Linked DNA regions of Homo sapiens: region 2 is linked to region 1. The links are contacts of gene promoters, found by promoter capture Hi-C in human tissues and cell types (Jung and others, 2019). All regions are on one chromosome and are shown on one strand. Each heading gives the region's core, a stretch centred on a gene start or on the middle of the fragment in contact. The rest is flanking DNA. Distances are from core to core; before and after follow the strand shown.

Region 1 (6,238 bases), core at 2,748-5,247:
TAAGTGAGGACACAAGGTTTGGAAGTGGCAAACATGTTGTGATTAACAATAATGGTAGAGAGATGATAAACTTTGCAGTCAGTCTCTGAGCCACCCTGGAGTAATGGAAGAGAGAGGGTCATAAAGACACAAAAACATCAAGAGAGAAAGCGAGATGTCAAACATAGCTCCGAGCGGGCTTAATCATTAGGCAGCTTTTCAGGGTTTCAGGGATTTTTGTACTTTTTCTTTATTATACGCAACAGGACCAGCCCCAAACATGAAAACTGATTAATTTGTGAAACTAACACTCCATGATTTTTGTAGGCTATCAGCTGTAGGAGGCATTCTTGCTGTAGTTTGAAGTGATGGGGATTTAGTTAGAATTAACTGTCCATCACATGCTCTCTAATGAGGTGAATGACATCCTTGCCCTAGCTCATCTTGTAGAGAAATACAACCGCTGGCAGAAATGAGTTCTTCCAGTGTCTTCTCCCCATTTTAGTTCTATGTTTATTCTTCTGTACTTACTTCTATTACAATGTGAAACATTTCAGGTATTTTCTCCCAAATTTATTCTATTGAAACCACCTACAATTGTTTTCAGTTTCAGCAGAAAAAAATTCCCTTGAGGATTTCTGAATGCTAAGGTATGAGAAATAAAAGAAACACTTGTGTAAAAATTTAAATCACATTAAAAAAATTCCCTTTTGTTTGAGAAGGTAAAAACATTTGATGTTTTAAACATCCAAGAGGGTAAGTGAGCCCAAAGGATGGACTGCTGTTTAGTTAAGCATGAAAGGACTTTAGAATTGTCAGTTATTAACTTCTAATTTGTGTGAAAGAAACTTTGAGAACTTTCCCTTTCTATAACTAGTAATTAAGCCATTATTCTAACAGGGGCAATTAAGGGGTGAGTGTTTAATAAAAAAAAAAGATAATGGAAAAGACTCTACGCCCCAAGACACATCAAGACAAGGAATGGCAGCAGCAGCAACAACAAAAGGAACTCAGTTTGAATTCACAAAGGAAATGAGACAACCCGTTTCAACTAAAAACGAACAAACTGTTGGTGGAGAACAAAAACAGAAGATTGTTATTACTTAACTCACAAATATACATATGCAACTCTCTCTTTCAGTGGGGAAATGATCCAATCAGTATTAAAATTTTGTTGATTGTAGATTAATGTATGCCACTAAATAAGATAACTTAACTTGAGCTTTTGGGGGTGTTTTATTTTGAAAATGTCATACTCTGTTAGCCTGGTTTATTTGAAAGACAGGTAGGACAGAGAGTTGAGACAGACCTTTGCCTCATGGAAACACACTCATCCTTCTATTATTACCATTCTTGTGCCTCTGTCGCTTCTCAGAGGGCAGGGTTTAATAGATTTGGTCTAAACTGCTTTGTCCAGTGGTTAGCACAACTCTCTCAGAGGAAGCACTCAAATTTTAAGAAATGGTAATAAGACTAGATATTCTTAGAAATCTATTGATTTAAAATGCTTCCCAGTCTCTGTCCAATCCTGTCAAAGCCCTTATAAATTTAACACGCTGCTTTTTAACAACTGATTCAACCCCAGATACTTGAGGGTTAGATATCTTATTTAGAACATGCATTTTGCTGTTCAGCAAGTAAGAGTTTCGCTGCCACAGCTTATCTTACACCTTTTTGAGAATATGGGGATATATAGAAAAGCTGATGAATTCTGATAAAGTGGCGATTCCCAAGCTCTGAACTGGTTATCGGGGTGCTTATTAAAATGCAAATTCTTTCAATATAATCCACAGGTAAAGAAATAAAAAATGCAAATTCTTAGGAAATCAATTTGCCACAGAGATTTGGAGTCAGTTTTTTTTTCTTTTTAGCAACTGATAAGGTGATCTAGGGATCAACATTGATAAAACATTGATGTAAGTTTTTTTTTTTAACTTTCTTACCCTGTTAACTGATGATGTAAGCTTTTTGAAGAAATAAAATGATTCAGTAAAATCTAAACTTTATATATTGGATCTGGCTCACCATTCTTTACGTGAGTCAAATTGGGGGCAATTATTAACGATATCTTCATAATTGGCAGGAAAATCACCTTTAAAAGATTAGTAGACTTTAAAAAAACAGTTTTAGGCTTACATAAAAATTGGCCAGAAAGTACAGAGAGTGTCCATAGACCCCTCCCAGCCCCTCACCCTCACTTGCCCCTATTATTAACATGTTGCATTAGTGTGGTACATTTGTTATAACTGATGAGCCGATATGGAAAGTGACTTTTGAAATGACATGGCGAGGTTGCCCAACGTATCAGTGGCTGGGCTGATGCTGGGAACCACGTCACACCCACACACTCACTTCAACAATCTCCCTGGTAATTTCTCTGGCAGAGATGTTGTGTGCAGATTAATACCATAATGACTGTAATTGTTCTGCTCCAGTATCTGAACACCAGTGGTTGCAGGACCCATTTGACTAAGCACTGGGATTGTTGGTATTTATCCTGACTCCATCTTCACTTTCCTTGCGACCTTGGACACAAGCTTTAATGGCTCAGCGCCTTAAGCGTGTAAACCTGTGAAACAGAACAACATTGCACAATATCATTAACTAATTTACACCTTGACTCTTTCTAAAGGGAAGTGAGGTGGGAGCAATGATATTAATGGTGAAGAACTGGACTGGGATAAGTTACAAACATGCTTGACTTTCCCCATAAGGATTACAGAAGGATGTTTCATTCATTCATTCATGCTGTGAGACAGCCTGGGGATACTCATCTTAAAGCACAGTCCTTCCCCAACAGTCTTAGGAATAAATCCTAGAGTGGGCATCTAGCCCAGTGGTTACGGGGAGCTTGGGTGGGGTGAGTGGAGTAGCATCTTTGGGAAGGGTTCCTTCCCCTGGAAGGTGTGACTTTGTGAGCTGAGTTTTAAAGGTTGAGTAGCAGTTGGCAAATTCCCTGGAGAGAGCATCTCAAATCTTTTGTGCTGAAGAACCAGCCATTTTTGTTCCCAGTCGGCCAGGTACCAATACACTGCGGCGCCAGGTGTGACTCACCACGTGAGTCTGACAACACCCAAACTGGTTTATACTCGGTTCAAAGAGTCCACTGATCATGTGCTTGGATGTCGTGGCATTATTAAATTGCTACAAACGTTTACTCTTAATTTCTCTACTTGTTACAAGCTTTCGTTCAGCACAGGACCAGGTAGCACCTGAGGGGCACCTGGAAAGCAGATTGTTCCAGCCTGCGTTCTAACAAGGTTCCCAGGTGACCCTCGCACAGCATAAAGTTAAAAGAACTGCCCTAGGGGAAACGGGACTCAGTGCCAGGTGGGTTTGATCATTCGTCCATCTCAGTGCCATCTGCCATCTCTGCTTCCTTGAGGTCTAGAAAAGGGTTACATTTTTAAAGGTGATATTGGCCACGTCCCCTTCCAGTTTCAAAACTACATTTCCCCGCTGTTACGCAAACGTCTTAAGCAAACCCGACTGCAGGACAGAAAGTCAACACGGGAATGCAGCTTCCAGAAATTCTGATTAGCCTCCGTCTTCCGCTTTGATCTGGCCCCGCAGCCCCGGCAGCTCCGCTGACCGCGCTTCCTTCCCGAGATTGCTAGTCTACCGGGCTGCATTAATGAGATCCGTGTTGAGCCGGTTCCCGGGTCTGCTAAACATGAAAGGCACAGAAGCCCCCAGTCCCTTCTCCTCCCCTCTAAGTGATTGTTTAGTCTCTCTCTGCAGAGGGAAGAGTTAAATCCCCTCCCCACGCCTACGTGGGAAGACCTGGGGAAACACGCGGCCCCCTCCCGGGTCCGCTAACGAGCCTGCGGCTGCTTCGGGCTTAGAGTGGGCGGGGCCTGGTCGGGAAGGGGGCGGGGCGCTCCGCCCGGGCGGGGCCAGACGGTGTGGTTGGCGGAGGGCCAAGCTCCTGGGGGCGGGGCCGCGAGCGGGAGGGCGGGGCCGGCTGCGGGAGGGCGGGGCCGGCTGCGGGAGGGCGGGGCGAGGTCGCTGGGCTGTAGTCCCGCGGGCGAGAGCTGGCTGAGCCGCGGCGCGGGACTGCTCACCTCCAAGCGCTCGCGCGGGGATCGCGGCTCCTGCTCACTTTGCGGCCCGCTGTCCTCCTGCCCGCCCCGAGGGCCCCCGGCCGGAGCGCAGAGGGAGGGGGCCGCGCTCGCCAGCACCCCGCCGCCTTCCCCCGCCTGGGGGAAGAATGTGCCACCAGCTGTTCTCCGCTTGCGAGCGCTGCGCCCAGTAGTGAGGAACTTGGAGGAAGAAGAGACAAAGGCTGCCGTCGGGACGGGCGAGTTAGGGACTTGGGTTTGGGCGAACAAAAGGTGAGAAGGACAAGAAGGGACCGGGCGATGGCAGCAGGGGAGCCCCGCGGGCGCGCGTCCTCGGGAGTGGCGCCGTGACACGCATGGTTTCCCCGGACCCGCGGCGGCGCTGACTTCCGCGAGTCGGAGCGGCACTCGGCGAGTCCGGGACTGCGCTGGAACAATGGATAACTTCTTCACCGAGGTAAGTGCGCTCCCAGTCCGACCTGGCCTCCGGAGCCCAGGGAGAGAGGCGTCTGCCCACCACGCCGCGCGCCCTGGGTACTTTTTCCTAAGCCCTGGAAGGCGCAACTTTCTGGGAGTCTCCTGAAATCACCCCCCATCCCCCCGCGGAGTCTCTGATGAGTAAGCCCGGGCAGGTTTTGTTTCGTCCTGTCCCGCGCTCGCATTTTGCTCCGGGAGGTAGCGAAGGTGCGTTTCCGTTTGCGTGGGTGGCTGGCTCTCGGGGCGCCCTGGGACACCCGCGCCAGGTGAGGCGGCGCGCGCCGGGGCGCGGGCGGGGCGATCCGCCCGCTCGACTGCCCGGGTGCAGGAAGCCCAATAAAATGTTCAGCGGGGACCTGCCTTTCTCCAAGAAAGGTCTTGTCTGGTATTTCCTTTGCAAAACGTGCGGGCTTCCTGTGCAGGGGTTCAAACACTTCCAGAGGAGACGGCTTAATGAAGTGTGAGAAGGAGAGGCAAGGGTTTAATCGGTTACTTTGCTCGCCGAGAAGTGCTCTTTTAAGGCTTGGGATAACTCCAGACCCTGGGATCAAATGATCATGTATTTGTGTAGAGTGTCCATGCAGATTTTGAATTCGAATGTAAAGAAAATTCGTTTAGGGCAAACAGTGGCTATTTTAATAGATGAAACGGATGCCCTCTTTAGGGTCGTTGAGGGTGGGACACTGAAACTTAACTTGAGAACCCTTTTTCCCCCTTTGGGATCGAGACTTACTGTGGTTTCTTGGCTCCCTTTCCTTTCTTGGTTGTGTTTATTTAATAAATTCTGTTTAAGTTTGAGGTTTGAAGTGGCTCAAAGTAAACTTAGTTGACTTGAGAGAGTCTGATGTGATTTTCGTTGAAAGCCAGGGAATGTTTTCTGAGTGCAGAACCGCTTTGGAGTCTTCCAGCAAATCAGATTGATGAGGGCTTGCCTCTGTGTTAGCCGACTTGGTTTATCTGATTTAATTGGATATAATATTTCAAGTCATTCTGCTTTCTGCATGCTCACTGACTGTATTCTCAGACAGCTATTCATACTGGCCAAAGTGATAAATGCATTCTTGTTTAGTAGTCATATCTAGTTTTTAAAAGTGGTGTTTCAGATGTGATACCCACATTCATTGTGGAAGGAAGACTAGAAAGGAATTATCCATCAATACATATTTTTCCTTTTCTTAAAAAAAGTGAAATATATATAATTGTGAGACGCTCGCATTTTCTAGTCCATAGACTTTTGTTTTCATGCTTGTCGAAAGGCACCAGAACTTTCTGCAAGAGTTGCACGTTGTCCAGTGGTAAAGGACCCTCGGGCTACAGTGAGTTCCGGTGTTTAATTGCTTGCATCTGTAAGAAAACGGAGGCCCTGCCCCTAGGGCAATGATTCTTAACTTTGTTGTTTTTGTGTTCTGGGTCCCTTAGAAAATCTGATGAAAATATAGAAATTTGTATTCAGTTTGCACGGATCTCACTCCTCCTGTAGCCTGTCTGAGCACCACAGGGGTCCGTGGCTCCCCCTTGGGGAGAACTCTGCCCCCTAGTGCAAGTGGGGGGAACATCAGGATAACGCGCTACAGCGTCCTGATCTCCTGTTACCCGGTGAGACTTTGACTTTTCAAAGTACTCTTTTCATCTTGCACTGGATACCTTAGTTCAGTGTAAGGGGCCTGGTTGTTGGATTTTATTTCTGTGATCAATATTATTTTGCAGTTGGCCATTAGTGA
Region 2 (5,953 bases), core at 2,606-5,105, 1.4 Mb before region 1:
AATAGTACCCGCCTTCAATAAAATTCAACATCCCTTTATGTGAAAAACTCTCGATAAAGTAGGTACTGAAGGAACACACCTCAAAATAATAAGAGCCATTTATGACAAACCTACAGCCAATATCAGACTGAATGGGCAAAAGCTTGTGCCCATGAAATGGCACAAGACAAGGATGCCCTCTCTCACCACTCCAATTCAACATAGTATTGGAGGTTCTGGCCAGAGCAATCAGGCAAAAGAAAGAAATAAAGGACATCCAAATGGAAAGAGAGGAAGTCAAATTGTCTTTGTTTGAGATTACATGATCCTATATATATCTACAAAACCTCATCATCTCAGCCCAAAAGCTTCTTAAGCTGATAAGCAACTTCAGCAAAGTCTCAGGATACAAAAATCAGTGTGCGAAAACCACAAGCACTCCTACACACCGACAGCAGACAAGCAGAGAGCCAAATCATGAACAAACTCCCATTCACAATTGCTATGAAGACAGGGAAATACCTAGGAATACAGCTAACAAGGGAAATGAAGGACCTCTTCAAGAAGAACTATAAACAACTGGCTAAGGAAATCAGACATGACACAAACAAATGAAAAAACATTCCAAGCTCATGGGTAGGAAAAATCAATATATTGAAAATAGCCATACTGCCCAAAGTAATTTATAGATTCAATGCTATTCCTATTAAGCTACCGTTGACATTCTTCACAGAATTAGAAAAAAATTATTTCAAAATTCATATGGAACTGAAAAAGAGCTCCTATAGCCAAGACAATCATAAGCAAAAAGAATAAAGCTGGAGGAATTATGCTACAAACCATACTACAAAGCTACAGTAACCAAAACAGCTTGGTACTGGTACAAAAACAGACACGTGGAACAATGGAACAGAATAGAGAACTCAGAAATAAGACTGCACATCTAAAACTATCTGATCTTTGACAAACATGACAAAAACAAGCAATGGGGAAAGGATTCCCTGTTTAATAAATGGTGCTGGGAGAACTGGCTAGCTATATGGGGAATACTGAAACTGGACCTTTTCCTTACTACACCTTATACAAAAATTAACTCGAGATGGATTAAAGACTTAAATGTAAAAGCCAAAACTGTAAAAACCCTAGAAGAAAATCTAGGTAATACCATTCAGGAAATAGGCAAAGGCAAAGATTTCATGACGAAATCATCAAAAGCAATTGCAATAAAAGCAAAACTTGACAAATGGGATCTAATTAAACTAAAGAGCTTCTGCACAGCAAAAGAAACTATCATCAGAGTTAACAGACAACCTACAGAGTGAGAGAAAAATTTTGCCATCTATTCATCTGACAAAGTCTAATATCCAGAATACACAGGAACTTAAACAAATTTATAAGGAAAAAACCACCCCATTAAAAAGTGGGCAAAGAACACCAACAAACACTTCTAAAGAGAAGACATTAATGCAGCCAAAAAACATATGAAAAAAAGCTCAACATCACTGATCATTAGAGGAATGCAAATCAAAATCACGGTGAGATACCATCTTGCACCTGTCAGAATAGCAATTATTAAAAAGTCAAGAAACAACAGATGCTGGTGAGGTTGCAGAGAAAGAGGAATTCTTTTACATTGTTAGTGTAAAAATGACTGTGGAAGACATTGTGGAGATTCCTTAAAGATTTAGAACTGGAATACCATTTGACCCAGCAATCTTATTACTGAGTATATACCCAAGGGAATATAAATCATTCTATTATAAAGATACACACACATCTGTGTTCACTGCAGCACTATTTACAATAGCAAAGACATGGAATCAACCCAAATACCCATCAATGATACATTGGATAAAGAAAATGTGGTATATATACACCATGAAGTATTATGCAGCCATAAAAAAAATAATGAGATCATGTCCTTTGCAGGGACATGAATGGACCTAGAAGCTATTATCCTCAGCAAACTAACACAGGAACAGAAAACCAAACACTGCGTGTTCTCACCTATAAGTGGGAGCTGAACAATGTAAACACATGGACACAGAAAGGGGAACAACACACACTGGGGTCTGTGGAGGGGGTGTGGAGGGAGAGCATTAGAAAAAATAGCTAATGCATGTTGGGCTTAATACCTAGGTGATGGTTTGACAGGTACAGCAAACCACCATGGCACACATTTACCTATGTAATAAACCTGCACATCCTGCACATGTACCCTGGAACTTACCATAAAAGTAAAATACAATTTAACAATAACATGCATTTTTTTAATCACAGTGATGATTTCTGAAATGTCCTGTATGAGGCTTGTCTTTGGTTCTGCTCTTTAACGTACTACAATAGTCATCATAATGGTTTAGAGAAAATACTTTCCACTACAACTTATGGCACCTCTTCTCAGGACTCATCTTTCATTTCTTAAGCTTTATTATTTGATGCCATTTCTTATATTTGTCATTCTTTATTACAACATATAATATGTTAGAATCATCTATGAGTTGAGGAGAACTAGGGGAAGTTCCAATTGAGTAGAACATACCATGATCTACTTAACTTACCTATTATTCTTTGGGGTACATGTATTATTTGACTTTCTCTTTTCTTTGGTTGAGTTTCTTTATGCCATATATTAGCAATAGTTACTCAATAGCTTTAATATCCAAATTCTGTGGTGGCAAACTATCTCTGGTACACCCATTTCTTATTCCACCCCCCAAAAGAATAGTTCATTCTTGCACACACACAGTTTTATACACTTGATAGAGTATCAGCGAATCTTTCAACTCTATCATCAGATATGGCTAAAGAAATTAAACCTAAACTCAGTCTACATCTGTATTCACTTTTTTTGGATGCCAGAGTACACAGATTATCCAAGCAACATTCCTCTTAACAACAAGGGGAAGCGACTAAAATGTTAGAGAGTGGGACTCAGGGTTCAGATGGGAAGAGGAGCACAGTTATAGCTACTTAGCACAAACCTAGATTTTTATATTTTATCTTAATAAGAACTGGTTGTGTGGCTTTCTCTTTTAACAAATAGAACCAACTTAAATTTCACAACAGATTATGTACATAGTTTTAATAGTGTTTTTCACATCAGTTAAATTAAAATTGCATACTCCTCTTTGAAGTTCTGATTACTGAGACATGCACAGAATTTTTTCCCCTGGAACTACAGTTATAGAAGATAGAATAGAATAGAGCTTCCTAATAGAAGATATTCCAACCTGCCTATAACAAGCCTTACATTTGACAAATATCTGCTGTTTGATTAAGCTACCATGAGCAAGGATATTTTGTTTAGCATAGTATTTCCTAAGGATTTCAAACCACTGTTGATTAAACTTTAGTATTTAAATAACCTTCAACATTCCTTTCAAATGAGAAGCAATTCTAAAACCTTTTGTAATTTTGCATTTTATAGAATGGAAATGGTAACTTCACGTCACCAAAGAGTGGCAGAAGAGAAAAAAATCTAGACTTTTAAATCTCAAATCCTGCCTTTCTTGCCTTTAAAATATGTCCAATGTGAGAAAGAGATGTGTTTCTCATGGAAGGATGCCAGCAGGGAGCATGTCTTCCTTCAGCAGTAAGAGGTCAGAGTGGTTTATGGTTTTCACAGGCTGAATTCAGATGAGGCAGTTGGTCTGGATTCAGCTTTGTTTCTAAAAGCTCAGAGATGTTTTGTACTTATCCTTTGTTTTCTGCCTCTCTGGTTTCCATGGAAATGCAGGACTCTTGGAAAAAGCAAAGTCATGCACCTCATGCACAGGCAATGTGTGTTATTTCTGGAGTCAACTGAGTAGTGAATATGTCCCAAGATGTCAATGTGAACAGGTCCTGGAAGGGGCAGGAGGGATGCAGAAGGTACCATATCCAATTGTCTTATCATAGACCTTCATGTCCAGATAAGTTACAGGTTATCTGTCCTTCTACAGGAAATACAAGATTTATCTTGGTAAACATTAATCTAGACAGAAAAGAGAAGAAAATATAAGATGGAGAAAAAATTTAAGCAAGATTTTTTTGGCTTTACAAAATGTGTATTAAATATATTCTCAGGAGCTACAGAAATGACCCTTTTACTTAAGCTGGGATTTAAATAAAGGATAAACTTTAGATAAACTTTTCCACCAGAATATATAATTATATAAAGAAATTTCCTTAGTTGGATTAACACCTCTCCTCCTCCACACACCTATTTTCAAGATAAAAATCAAATTTGAATAATAATTTAAGGGAGAAAAAGTGTTTTTAAAAGGAGAAACATAAATAAAAATCTAACAATCATCTTATATAATGGGAAACCAATTTTTCATTTCTCTGCATTACATATGCTGATTCTTGAGGAAGAATTTATTTTAGTACCTTTTTCTCAATTTTTATTTTTGGTTTGTTACAGTTCTCTATCACAACCAATTTTATTACTATCATTAATAGAATTTATTAAATTCCATATAAATTCTTGGCTTTTAAGAGATACTTGGATATAAAATGTTACTTACATAATAATATGATTATTATAGAGTTAAATTAATACCCTTCTTTGTACAAAATAATGTGCAAAGAACTGTGTAAAGTAATTTTTTAAAGTATTCTTTCTCTAAATGTGATTACTATCTGATTTATTTAATAAATCATAAGCATAGGAAATAATAAAGAGCATACAAAGTGCTTTTGGATAAACCAATGAGTATGTACTGAAAAAAAATTATTCTACTGAAGGTTGCCATGTAGAAACTTATATTCAGTAGAACAGATAACCGAATGATTTGGACAAGAAAACCATGCAATTTGGCCCACACACGTAAGACAAAAATACATTTTTACACAAATAACTTTAAAAATTTTGTTTTGTATTTCCAGGGAATGGGAAAGCAAAAGTTGCAAATGAAGAAGAAATAAAGAAAATAATTCAGGCCCCAAGAGAAAGGAAAAAAAGAAAACTTTTATTATGAACTAAAGTTTAGTTTAAACATAATGACAAAATGAGGAAATAAAATTGTAACAAAGAACCAATTTTAATACTTAATTGTTTTAACAAGAGAATAAATAAATATGCCACTGGAGAAGAAACACCACAGTCAGAATTATATAAAATAAGCTTGACATAGTGAAAAGCTATAATGAACATATCCTCATGAAAACTATGGAAAGATTAATACATTTCAGCTAAGAATAGCTTTCAAGATTAGTTTTAAGTATTTTCATCCTTATAATGTACTTAATAAATGCATTCTTGATCCCATATATCAGACAAAAATGCACTTCTTTTTACTATATATATTTAAGCTGTACAACATGATGTTCTGATATACATATGAAGAAAAAATAATTACTACAGTCAAGCAAATTAACCTATTCATCACCTTTTATATTTACCTTTGTGTGTGTGTGTGTGTGTGTGTGTCTGTGTGTAGTAAGAGCACTTAACATCTATTCTTTCTGCAAATTTTCAAAATACAATACAATATTAATAACTATAGCCCTCATGTACTCTTTGATGTACTTCCTTTTTCCTTCCCATTGCTGCCCCTGGTAATTTACTCTTTCTTTCAATGTATCTGACTTAAAGGAATCTAAAAAAGTTGCACCCATAGAAGCAGAAAGTAGAATAGTTGTTTCCAGGTCTGGGGTCATGGGGTGGAGGGCGGTATTGGTCAAAGGATAAAAAAATTCAGTTAGGAGGAATAAGTCCAAGGGATCCAATGAATAACATGGCGATTATAGTTAATAACAGTGGATTGTATTGAAATTTGCTAGGAGTGTAGCTCTTGATTGTTCTGACCACACACACAAAAACAAATATGTGAGGTAAAGTTTGTGTTAGATTTCACCATTCCACAATATATACATATTTTGAAACATGTACACTATTAATATATACAAATTTTATGTGTGAATTAAAAAATCATTTTTAAAAAATGTGCTTGTTTATTTAAAATATAGGACTACATCGCAAGTGTCT

The links. Contacts are between HindIII fragments. The study calls those that stand out against the background at their distance.
Region 2: a contact is called between a fragment that was not itself captured here and the fragment with the promoter of MYO10 in region 1, in 2 of the 25 tissues and cell types used here (dorsolateral prefrontal cortex and spleen).

What each region holds. Positions count from the first base shown.
Region 1 is chr5:16,934,047-16,940,284 of GRCh38, reverse strand. It overlaps MYO10 (myosin X), which reads left to right and starts at 3,997. Exons shown (of 41, transcript NM_012334.3): 1 at 3,997-4,497. The coding sequence starts at 4,477. The HindIII fragment of the contact is 7,585 bases long and covers 2,840-6,238 here.
Region 2 is chr5:18,327,248-18,333,200 of GRCh38, reverse strand. No RefSeq gene overlaps it. Among named protein-coding and RNA genes, the nearest start is that of LINC02100, 420 kb to the left of the region's middle. The HindIII fragment of the contact is 4,958 bases long and covers 1,377-5,953 here.